2 separate regions of the Homo sapiens genome follow, and region 2 is linked to region 1. Evidence: promoter capture Hi-C in human tissues and cell types (Jung and others, 2019). All regions are on one chromosome and are shown on one strand. The core of a region is centred on a gene start or on the middle of the fragment in contact, and the rest is flanking DNA. Distances in the headings are between cores, read along the strand shown. Region 1 holds the start of B3GNT2 (UDP-GlcNAc:betaGal beta-1,3-N-acetylglucosaminyltransferase 2). Region 2 overlaps EHBP1 (EH domain binding protein 1).

The links. Contacts are between HindIII fragments. The study calls those that stand out against the background at their distance.
Region 2: a contact is called between a fragment that was not itself captured here and the fragment with the promoter of B3GNT2 in region 1, in 1 of the 25 tissues and cell types used here (bladder).

Annotation. Positions count from the first base shown.
Region 1 is chr2:62,193,171-62,197,873 of GRCh38, forward strand. B3GNT2 (UDP-GlcNAc:betaGal beta-1,3-N-acetylglucosaminyltransferase 2) reads left to right here and starts at 2,945. Exons shown (of 2, transcript NM_006577.6): 1 at 2,945-3,185. LOC124906013 (a long non-coding RNA gene) reads right to left here and starts at 2,843. Exons shown (of 2, transcript XR_007086336.1): 1 at 1,969-2,843; 2 at 819-1,737. RefSeq lists enhancers at 1,430-2,037, 2,644-3,250, 4,231-4,340 and silencers at 2,331-2,560, 2,851-3,290, 3,471-3,820. The HindIII fragment of the contact is 18,752 bases long and covers 1-4,703 here.
Region 2 is chr2:62,744,786-62,749,488 of GRCh38, forward strand. It overlaps EHBP1 (EH domain binding protein 1), which reads left to right. Exons shown (of 23, transcript NM_001142616.3): 3 at 2,610-2,667. Among named protein-coding and RNA genes, the nearest start is that of EHBP1, 41 kb to the left of the region's middle. The HindIII fragment of the contact is 5,086 bases long and covers 105-4,703 here.

The sequences.
Region 1 (4,703 bases), core at 1,695-4,194:
TGAGCTCCAAGCAGGGAGTGTGTTTGCCATGTTCACCACTCCAGCGCCTAGTCCTGTGCTGCATCTAGAGGATGGCCAGTACATTTTTGTTGAATAAGTGAATAACACATCTCTGCCTACTGATGATGGACCTGGGTCCCAACCTAACAGTAGGGACTATAGCCAAGCGATGTGGAATCTAGCATTGAGTTACTCCCCAAAAGACACAAGGTAACTATTGTAGATATACTCCCAACTGTGTTAAAGCCACCATGGAGAAAATGCCCTTATTTATTTGAGACGGAGTCTTGCTCTGTCGCCCAGGCTGGAGTGCAGTGGCACGATCTCGGCTCAGTGCAACCTCCACCTCCCGAGTTCAAGCAATTCTCCTGCCTCAGCCTGCCAAGTAGCTGGGACTACAGGTGTCCACCACCACACCTGGCTAATTTTTTTGTATTTTTTGTAGAGACGGGGTTTTACCATGTTGGCCAGGGTGGTCTTGAACTCCTGACCTCAAGTGATCCGCCCACCTTGGCCTCCCAAGGTACTGGGATTACAGGCATGAGCCACCGTGCCTGGCCTAAGAATACCCTTATTTTTAAATTTCATGGCCTGGGCAGCCTTGGGCAGCGAGGGACACAAGCTTAATTTCCTAGTTGGTTGCCAGCTGACATTGTAGCAGCTCCTTTACTATAAACTCCTTGGCTGGCCGTTCTTGCAAGCATGTCTGTGGCTACAGGGAGTGCATTTAAAGGGAAGACACATATGCATGGAAACAATATACCAATCTGATGGCACAGAAAATCTTCCTTAGATGTCCGCTTTGTCTCAACACTGCATTTAAATATCAGACAGCAGCCTAGAGATATCTTTATTTAAACCCAGGAACATGGACTCAATATTATTTTGATACAGAATGAAGACATAGACTTCATTTATTAATTTATACTCCCTAGAGTTCTTTTTTTTTTTTTGAGACAGAGTCTCACTCTGTCACCCAGGCTGGAGTACAGTGGCACGATTTCGGCTTACTGCAACCTCCGCCTCCCTGAGTTCGGCGATTGTCCTGCCTCAGCCTCCCAAGTGGCTGGGATTACAGGTACATGTCACCATTAATTTTTGTATTTTTAGTAGAAACAGGGTTTCACCATGTTGGCCAGACAGGTCTCGAACTCCTGACCTTGTGATCCACCCGCCTCGGCCTCCCAAAGTGCTGGGATTACAGGCGTGAGCCACCGCGCCCGGCCTCTACTTCCTAGAGTTCTTAGAGAATTTCTAGCTTCTGTTTCTTTAAACATGTTTTATTAGCTTTCTAAATTATGAAAGTAAATACAACTGGAAAAATACAAAATCCAAAGTCAAGGGAGTAAAAAAATGTAACTCCCTTGTTTCCCCTCCCCGCGTAACCGTGGTTAACAGTCGGTGTGCACCCTTACAGATGTTTTTTCTATGAAAATACAAACATTCGACTTGTTTCTTGGACTTTACCTCGCAGTCCGAGGAGAATCATGTGAACAGCATGAAAGCAGCATGGTCCGAAGACTGCAAACCATAACATTTCCATATCTACTGACTCTGAATTCCTGTTTCTAGAGGACCCGCACCCACGTGGCTCTGTGCATCCGCAGCAACTTGGTCTTTCTTCCTTTGCTGAGTTTGGTTAAGGGAAAGGGCCGATTATTGAGTGGGCTCAGTTCACAGGTGCCTGAAATTCCTACTTAGCAATGTTCCTTTCCAGCTGATTCCGCCTCCGAGAGCCTTAGGAAAAAATGCTAACAGTTAGGAGCGAAGCGTCCTTAATTGCTCAGTCCAATTATCTAGATGGGTCCAGGTTCGGTTTCGATTCAGAGATAAGGACCAGGGGGCGGGGACGCTTCCAGGTGAGCCCCTGGTTAGGCTTGCCTCCCCGCGGAGCGCACGCGGGTCTCGCTGGCTGGACTGGGCCTTTCAAGACCAGGTAACTTCTCCATCCGGTATCGCCAGGCTTACCTGGGGGCCTCAGAATTGTGTCAGCTGCGTCTCTGAGTCACCTTGGAACCCCTCGAAGGAGCGCGGGGCTAGGAGGGCGCATCGGTGGGCCCGGGGACCCCGCTGCTAGGTGTGGTTGGCGCCAAGGCCGCCTCTGGCCGGCGGAGCCCTGCAGTGTCCGGAGGGTGCGGTCAGAGTCCGGCCCTTTAGGCCTTGCCTCGGTATCCGCCTTGCCCCTTGGGCCGCGGCACGGGTTCGGGCCGAGCGCCCGGCATCTTGCGTTTCTGGCTTCCTGAGACGGGCGTGGGACCTCGAGGAAACCACTCTGCATGACCCCACGAAGAGAACTAAGGACCACCCCCCACCCTTCCTGTCCTGGACGGCTTCATAAGCCAGAGGATCCAGTGGCAGTACCAAGCAGGGCACCACTCTGGGTCGTGAGCACCTAAGAGGTGGAGCAAAGGTCAGACCCCAGGGTGGCCCAGGCCTCCCTCCCCCGCCTCCCCGGCGGGGCCATTCCTCACCCGCCCCAGCACTGGAGGGGGCGGCCGGGGTCGGTCTAGTTCCGGTTACAAACTGGACAGAAAAGGCCACTGGAGTCTCGCTAGGCGATGCGCCTAGTCCCCTAGCCTCAGACGAACCGCAAGAGGGGCCACCCACAACTGGAGGGGCGGAGGCTGGAGCTGAGTTTCATTAGTGTTTTTGGAGCTGCCAGGCATTTCCAGGGGGGTCGCCTTCCTAGAGGCCCCCTTTCCCCAGCTTAACCCTCGGCTTTGCAGGAGGGTGCGTGGGGGCTGGAGGGTCCCTGGAAGCCGCAGGGAGCGCGGGCCCGGGTGGGTCCTGGTACCGGGTGGGGAGAGCGGAACCCTCCCAAAACTTGGGGCGCGGGGCGGGGCCGTCGGGCGGTGACGTGAGGGGCGGGGCCGGGCCCCATTGGCGGGCGGGCAGGGGAGGGGCGGGGCCGGGCGCCCGCGGCGGCTGCTGCGCCTGGAACCGGAGCCTGGAGTGAGGCGCAGCGGCAGCGGCAGCAGCGGCAACAAGTGCCGGAGGCTAGCAGAGCCAAGCCGGAGCAGTCCCTGCCGCCGACACCGCCGGGCCGCCCGTCCGGGGCGCCGCGCATGGAGCGTGAGCTGCGGCGGTCGCCGGGCTGAGCCGCGCGGAGCGGCCGGGACGTGGATGTGGCCGCGATCTCCCGCCCTTGCCCCCGCCCCGCCGAGCTGGAGCTGCTCCCGGACAAGGTAGGGCCCGGGCGCCGAGCACCCCCGCCGGCTCCCTCCCCGCTGCCCTCTCACCGCCAGGCCCCTCTACCAGTCCCCTTCCGCCTCCCTGCTTCCCGGCCCCACCTTCCGGACACCCTGCTACCCCCGCCCGGTTCCTCGCCGGTTCCGGCTTCGTACCCGCGCCCCGGTGGAGGAAGCCGTCCCTAGGTGGCTCCTGCCGCATTTAAGCCTCCCTTACCTTCCCGCCGTCCCAGCCACCCAACCTCAGCCCAGAGGGAGAGGAGAGGGACACCGCCCGCTGCGGGGCTTTGGAACCTCCCAACCCATTCCGTGCCCACCTCGCCCTGGAGCCCGGGGACCTTCCCCCTCCTCGCTGCACCCCAACTTCCGGGGGATCCGGCGCCGGGGCGATGCGGGCTTTGGCAAGGGGCATCTGGGGCCGGGCCTCCTCATCCGGGGCGCGCGGGCATTTCGGGGAGGGGGGCGCGCGTGATTCCTCGCTCGCACCCCCGCACCCCACCCTCGCACTGCGCCGGCCTCCCGTGCCGCATGGGGAGATCAGGTGTTTTGTGAGCCAAAGAGCCGCCGGCAGCCGCTCCCCACCCCCCACCCCCAACCTCTGCCACTTCTGTCTCCGGCTCCCCCAAAACTGGTTTCTGCCAAACTTAGGGAAAACCTTTCGCTTTGACCTTTTAAAAAAAATATTCCACACTGTTTGCGTTGAATGATTAACCAGGCTGCTAGCCCGAGTCGTGGGGGTGGGGTGGGGCGGGGTGGGGTGGGTGCTGCCAGGCCAGGGAGCGCCTGAAGCCGGACTCTACGAGACACCCCTCGTGGGAAGGTGGGCGTGGGGGGCCCTGCCGGGGCTGCGGGCGCGGGACTGGCGGCTACTCCAGCACGGCAGGCGGACCCTTCTGGAGGCAATAAACCGAGTCACCCGGTTAATTTCCAGGCCACGGTATTTGAAACTCGGGGCTGGGGAGCCGCAGAACTCCCTGTACCCCCATCAAGTAGAGGAGCCGTCGGGAGACTCCCCACAAGTGTCACAGCGTCAAAGCTCATCTTTAAAAATATGTACATTTATAACCTGGGTTGGCGAGGCGGCGCTCTTCTGCCCAAAACGTAGGGGTGGTTAGTTTGTAGAGTGGGCTTAGCTCACAGGTGCCTGAGCTGTATCCCCGTGGCCGCCTCAGCCACCCCAACTTCTCAGAAAGATTGTTTAGAACAATTAAACTATATTCTTTTGCCCTTCTCTTGTTGGAACCCTACCGTAATATCCGATAGCGAAGCCAGTTGGTGAATATAGAATTCTACTTGTTAAAACAAATTCTTCCGGTATAATTATTTGTGCCTCTGGAGGTGGTAAACGAGGTGGCCGACAGGGCCGGGACTGGGAGTGAAAAGGCGGGGACCCTGGCCGAGCCAGTCCCGGGGCTCCGGTGCCGGCTTATAGTCGCACCCATGCGGATCTGACAGCTGACCCGGAGGGAGGACCGGCAGGGCAGGGCAGGGCGGTCACTTCCCATTGTCCTAACT
Region 2 (4,703 bases), core at 1,398-3,897, 550 kb after region 1:
TGAGGCAACAGTTCAGGTGGCACTAGGAGGATGTTGTGTAGGGGACACACTCTCATTGCCATCACAGGTAATGCCTCACTAGACTTTCAAGTCAAACAGTGGTTGTCAGCCTTGGCTGCACATTAGAGTCACCTGTGAAATTTAAAAAACTGCACACCAGACCAATTAAATCAGATTATCCAGGGCTGGAACCTAGGTATCAGTATTTAGAAACGCTTCCCTAGAGTTTTTATTTTAATGTGCAGCAAGAATAAGGATCCCTGCAAAGCTTGGATGAGTTGCAGAGATGATGTATTATATAGCTACTGGCTTCAGTTGGACCTCATCAATTATAATTAACCAATTGGGAGTTCCTGGATGAAACTTAAGGTTTATTCAGTGCCGCATATTCATTGAACCTCAACCTTGTACTAGATTATTAGTTGGTAGGATTACAAAGATAAATAAGACGTGGTTGATAAAATAGTGCAGTCTAGTGTGAGAGACAGAAATAATAAATACTTACAATGCAAGGTGTATAGAGTATTAAAATAGAAAATAGGTGTGTCTAGGTTGTTATTGGGAACACAGGTGTAATTAACTCTGAGGCTTAGAATATGGAATGGGTGGGAGGGGATGGGGCAGGAGATGACATGAGAAATGGTCAGGGTTACACAGAGAAAGTGATAAATTAGGGGTTTACTAGGTAGAAAAATGGAAGAGGAAGTTTTTTTGTGTGTGTGTTTTTTTAAACATTGTAACATTGCAAAGATGTGAAGAAATGAAGAAATATGTGTTCAGGGGTTGGTTATAGAGCAAGATGCCTATGAGATATTTGCAGGTTATACAGCTAGAGAGATAGATCAGAGTCAAGTGGTGAGTGAAATGCCTTACAAGCCGTGTTGAGAAACAAGGGTGTCACAGGGCCAAATGCACATAGGGTCTAGATAGATCATTTTAAGGAGTGAAGCTGGTCAGGTGTGAAGCAGTTGGTAGTGTTGGAGGCTCTCCTAATCTGGACAGCATAGGCCTTGTTTAAAGGCATTTAAATAAGAACTTTTTAAAAGAGTTTAAGTTTAAAATAAAATAGAATACTCTTTCAGTCAAGTAAACCTGTAAAATTCAACCTGCAAGGGCCAGTTGGTGGTACCTTCAATTTAAGAGCCCAGCATAGGATGATAAACAAGGAAAAACTGTAAGATAGCATTTCTATAAAAGTACTGTCGAAATATAATTTCAGAGTTGAAATTGTGCTGGAGCTGTGGAGATGAGAGCATAAGTGAAGAGGTTAGTGCAGTAATCTAGGTAAAATGTTCTGGCAAGCCATCAATGTTTTCAAATGAGGTAGCTTACATTTGTTGGCTACTGTTCTCCTCTTGTTAACTTGCCATCATAGATCATACCTTCTTCCCAACCCCATCTATCATGTTGTTATACCGCACTCCATTCTTACTCACTGGAATTGTCCTAGTGCAGGTTTCTGTGTTGAACAAGGTGTTTTTTTTGTTTTTCTTTTAACGGTTGTTTGTTTTTCCATTGGTATAACTCTCTCTAGATAGCAGTATAGGTTTGTAGGTGGATCGCTGAGTGAGGAGTTTAAGGCTGGAGGCCTCTTATGTGTGTGTATATATATATATGTATTTAATTAAATGAAATAGGAGGAAAGGTTATCTGCTGAAAGCACGGGATTCCAGTGTAAAATGAACAGGACATAGAAAGTGGTGAAGGTCAACAAGATGAGTATGACTTTCATTTCTTGGTTAAGAAGCTTTTATCTAAGATTTTTTAAAATGAAAATTTAAGTAAAATAAGTGATAATCATAATCTTGATGTTTTTCATAAGAACAAAAGAGAACTTAGTTATATTAGGTTGATGCAGAAGTAATTGCGGTTTTAGTCGTTAAAAGGAATGGGAAAAACCACAGTTACTTTTGCACGAACCTAATTTTACCTGAAAATGTATTATTTTTGTTTGACTTTATATTAGTGGAAGATAGAGAAGAGAAATCTGAGATTAGAAGACCTGTATTTCAGTCTTGGTTCTGCCAGAGCTTTTGATTATTTAACTTAATAGTCTTTTAAGCTTAACTAAAATAGGGATAATAGTATATACCTTGCCTATTTTTTCAGTACCGTATTGTTTTTAATGAAGATTGAGATGATTGGCTATAATAATGTTTTAAAAACCACAAGCATTGTTCATGAGATACAGAGATGCAAAAGTAGTGAATTCATAGATTTAAATTATTTTGCAAGTGCCCTTTTTATGCTTGTTTACTTCACATTAAAGGGAATAATGTGTTAGAAGTATGGTGTTAATTTATGGAGAAGATATGTGTGTGCTTTTTTTCTTTTTAAAATAGACCAGTTCTAAATATTTTATTTTACTTGGTTTGTCCCTGTGATTTAACTTGCTAAAGTATTGTTGGAAAAGGACATGGAGGAAATATTAGTTATGCAAATTAGGTCACATCTGTAGTTAACATCTACTATATTTGATAGAGCTTTATTGTAACAGTAGCTGCTTTATGTAGCCTAAAGCAGATGACATTTTTGCCCTTTTAAAGGCGCTAAAATGAAACTTTATTTATTTAAGATAAATTATGTTTAACTTTTTTTTTGTTTGGCAGGCAACCAGATAAACTGGTGGTAGTTTGGACCAGAAGAAGCCGAAGGAAGTCTTCTAAGGTTAGTGTATTTTCTAAATTTCTTACCTAATTGTTGAATACAAATTAGCAAACTGCTCTGGTTCCAGTGTAGAATATTTTAAAATATTACTTGATGTTTTGTTTTTTTTTCTTGATTGTCTACTGAAAATGGATTGATCAGATGCTATAATCTTTTAACTGCTTGTTCTCAAAACGGGAGCCAGATACCTGAGTTTTGGTCTTGGATTTGGTAATTACTATGGTTTGAAAAAAATCAGGTGTTGCCAATGTAATAGAATAGGTTGGTGCAAAAGTAATTGCGGTTTTGCCTTAAAAGTAATAGCAAAAACTGCAGTTACTTTTGCACCAACCTAATATAAGGAGGTGGGGGGCCTTTAAGAAGTGATTAGGGTAAGGACTTCTCCCTTGTGAATTCAATTAGGCATCCTTATAAAAGGACTTGATAGAGGGAGTTTGTTTCCTTTTTGCCCTCTGCCTTCTGCCACATGAGGATGCACTAAGAAGGCCCTCACCAGATGCCGATGCCTTGATCTTGAACTTCTAGCCCTTAGAACTGTGAGAAAATAGATTTCTGCTCTTTATTTATTACTCAGTCTGCGGCATGTTGTTACACCAACACAAATGGACTGAGACAGTAGCCTTGAATAACATAATAGTTAAGTTACTTCTCTGTACTACAGTGTTAAGAATTAATGATTAAACAGGTACCACTTACAAAATTGTACCTAAGATTAATTTATTTAGATTACAAGATGACGAAGTTAGGGCACACTTAAGAAGTTACGAGTTATCTGAGTCTGTTGCTGGGGTGCAGAAGAGGAGTTGGATTTTTCAAAGATTTTAATTTCTTTTGGTACTGATAATTTTGTTTGTGGGGAGTGGAACCGAATTTTATAATATTCAATAACAGTTCTACAGATATTTAAAAAATTCTATCCTGGCCAGATTCTATCCTTACGCCTGTAATCCTGGCACTTTGGGAGGCCAAGGCAGGAGGATCGCTTGAGGCTAGGAATTTAAGACCAGCCTGGGAAACATAGTGAGACCCCATATCTACAAAAACAAAAACAAAAACAAAATTAGCCAAGTGTGGTGATGCACCTGTAGTCCCAGCTACTGAAGAGGTTGAGATGAGAGGATTGCTTGAGCCCAGGAGTTTGAAGCTTTATTGAGCTAAGATTGTGCCACTGCCCTCCAGCCTGGGTGACAGAGTGAGACTGTCTCTAAAAACAAAATTCTGTTCTAAAATAAATGTGACTATATTTTTTATTAGTATACAATGACCACAAGAATGTTTATTGAATGTTGGTTTTTCTACAAGTAGACCTGTATAAAGAAAACTTTATTAGTTTTAATTGAAATCCTACAATTTTCTGTATTTAAAATTTTTTATTTAGGGCCTCTTTTCAAGTCTTTTATTTTTATTGAGCTAAAACTTACATATGTGTAATACACAGATCTTAATTTTATAATTCAGTAAGATTTGATCAATATGTATACTTGTATAATTACCACTTCTGTAAAGATACAGACTGTTTTAATCACTTTTTTCTTTTTTATTTTATTATACTTTTAAGTTCTAGGGTACATGTGCACAACGTGCAGGTTTGTTACATATGTATACATGTGCCATGTTGGTGTGCTGCACCCATTAACTCGTCATTTATATTAGGTATATCTCCTAATGCTATCCCTTCCCCATCCCCCCACCCCACAACAGGCCCCCTGTGTGTGATGTTCCCCTTCCTGTGTCCAAGTGTTCTCATTGTTCAATTCCCACTTATGAGTGAGAACATGCAGTGTTTGGTTTTTTGTCCTTAAGATAGTTTGCTGAGAGTGATGGTTTCCAGCTTCATCCATGTCCCTTCAAAGGACATGAACTCATCCTTTTTTATGGCCGCATAGTATTCCATGGTGTCTATGTGCCACATTTTCTTAATCCAGTCTATCATTAATGGACATTTGGGTTGGTTCCAAGTCTTTGCTATTGTGAATAGTGCTGCAGTAAACATACATGTGCATGTGTCTTTATAGCAGCATGATTTATAATGCTTT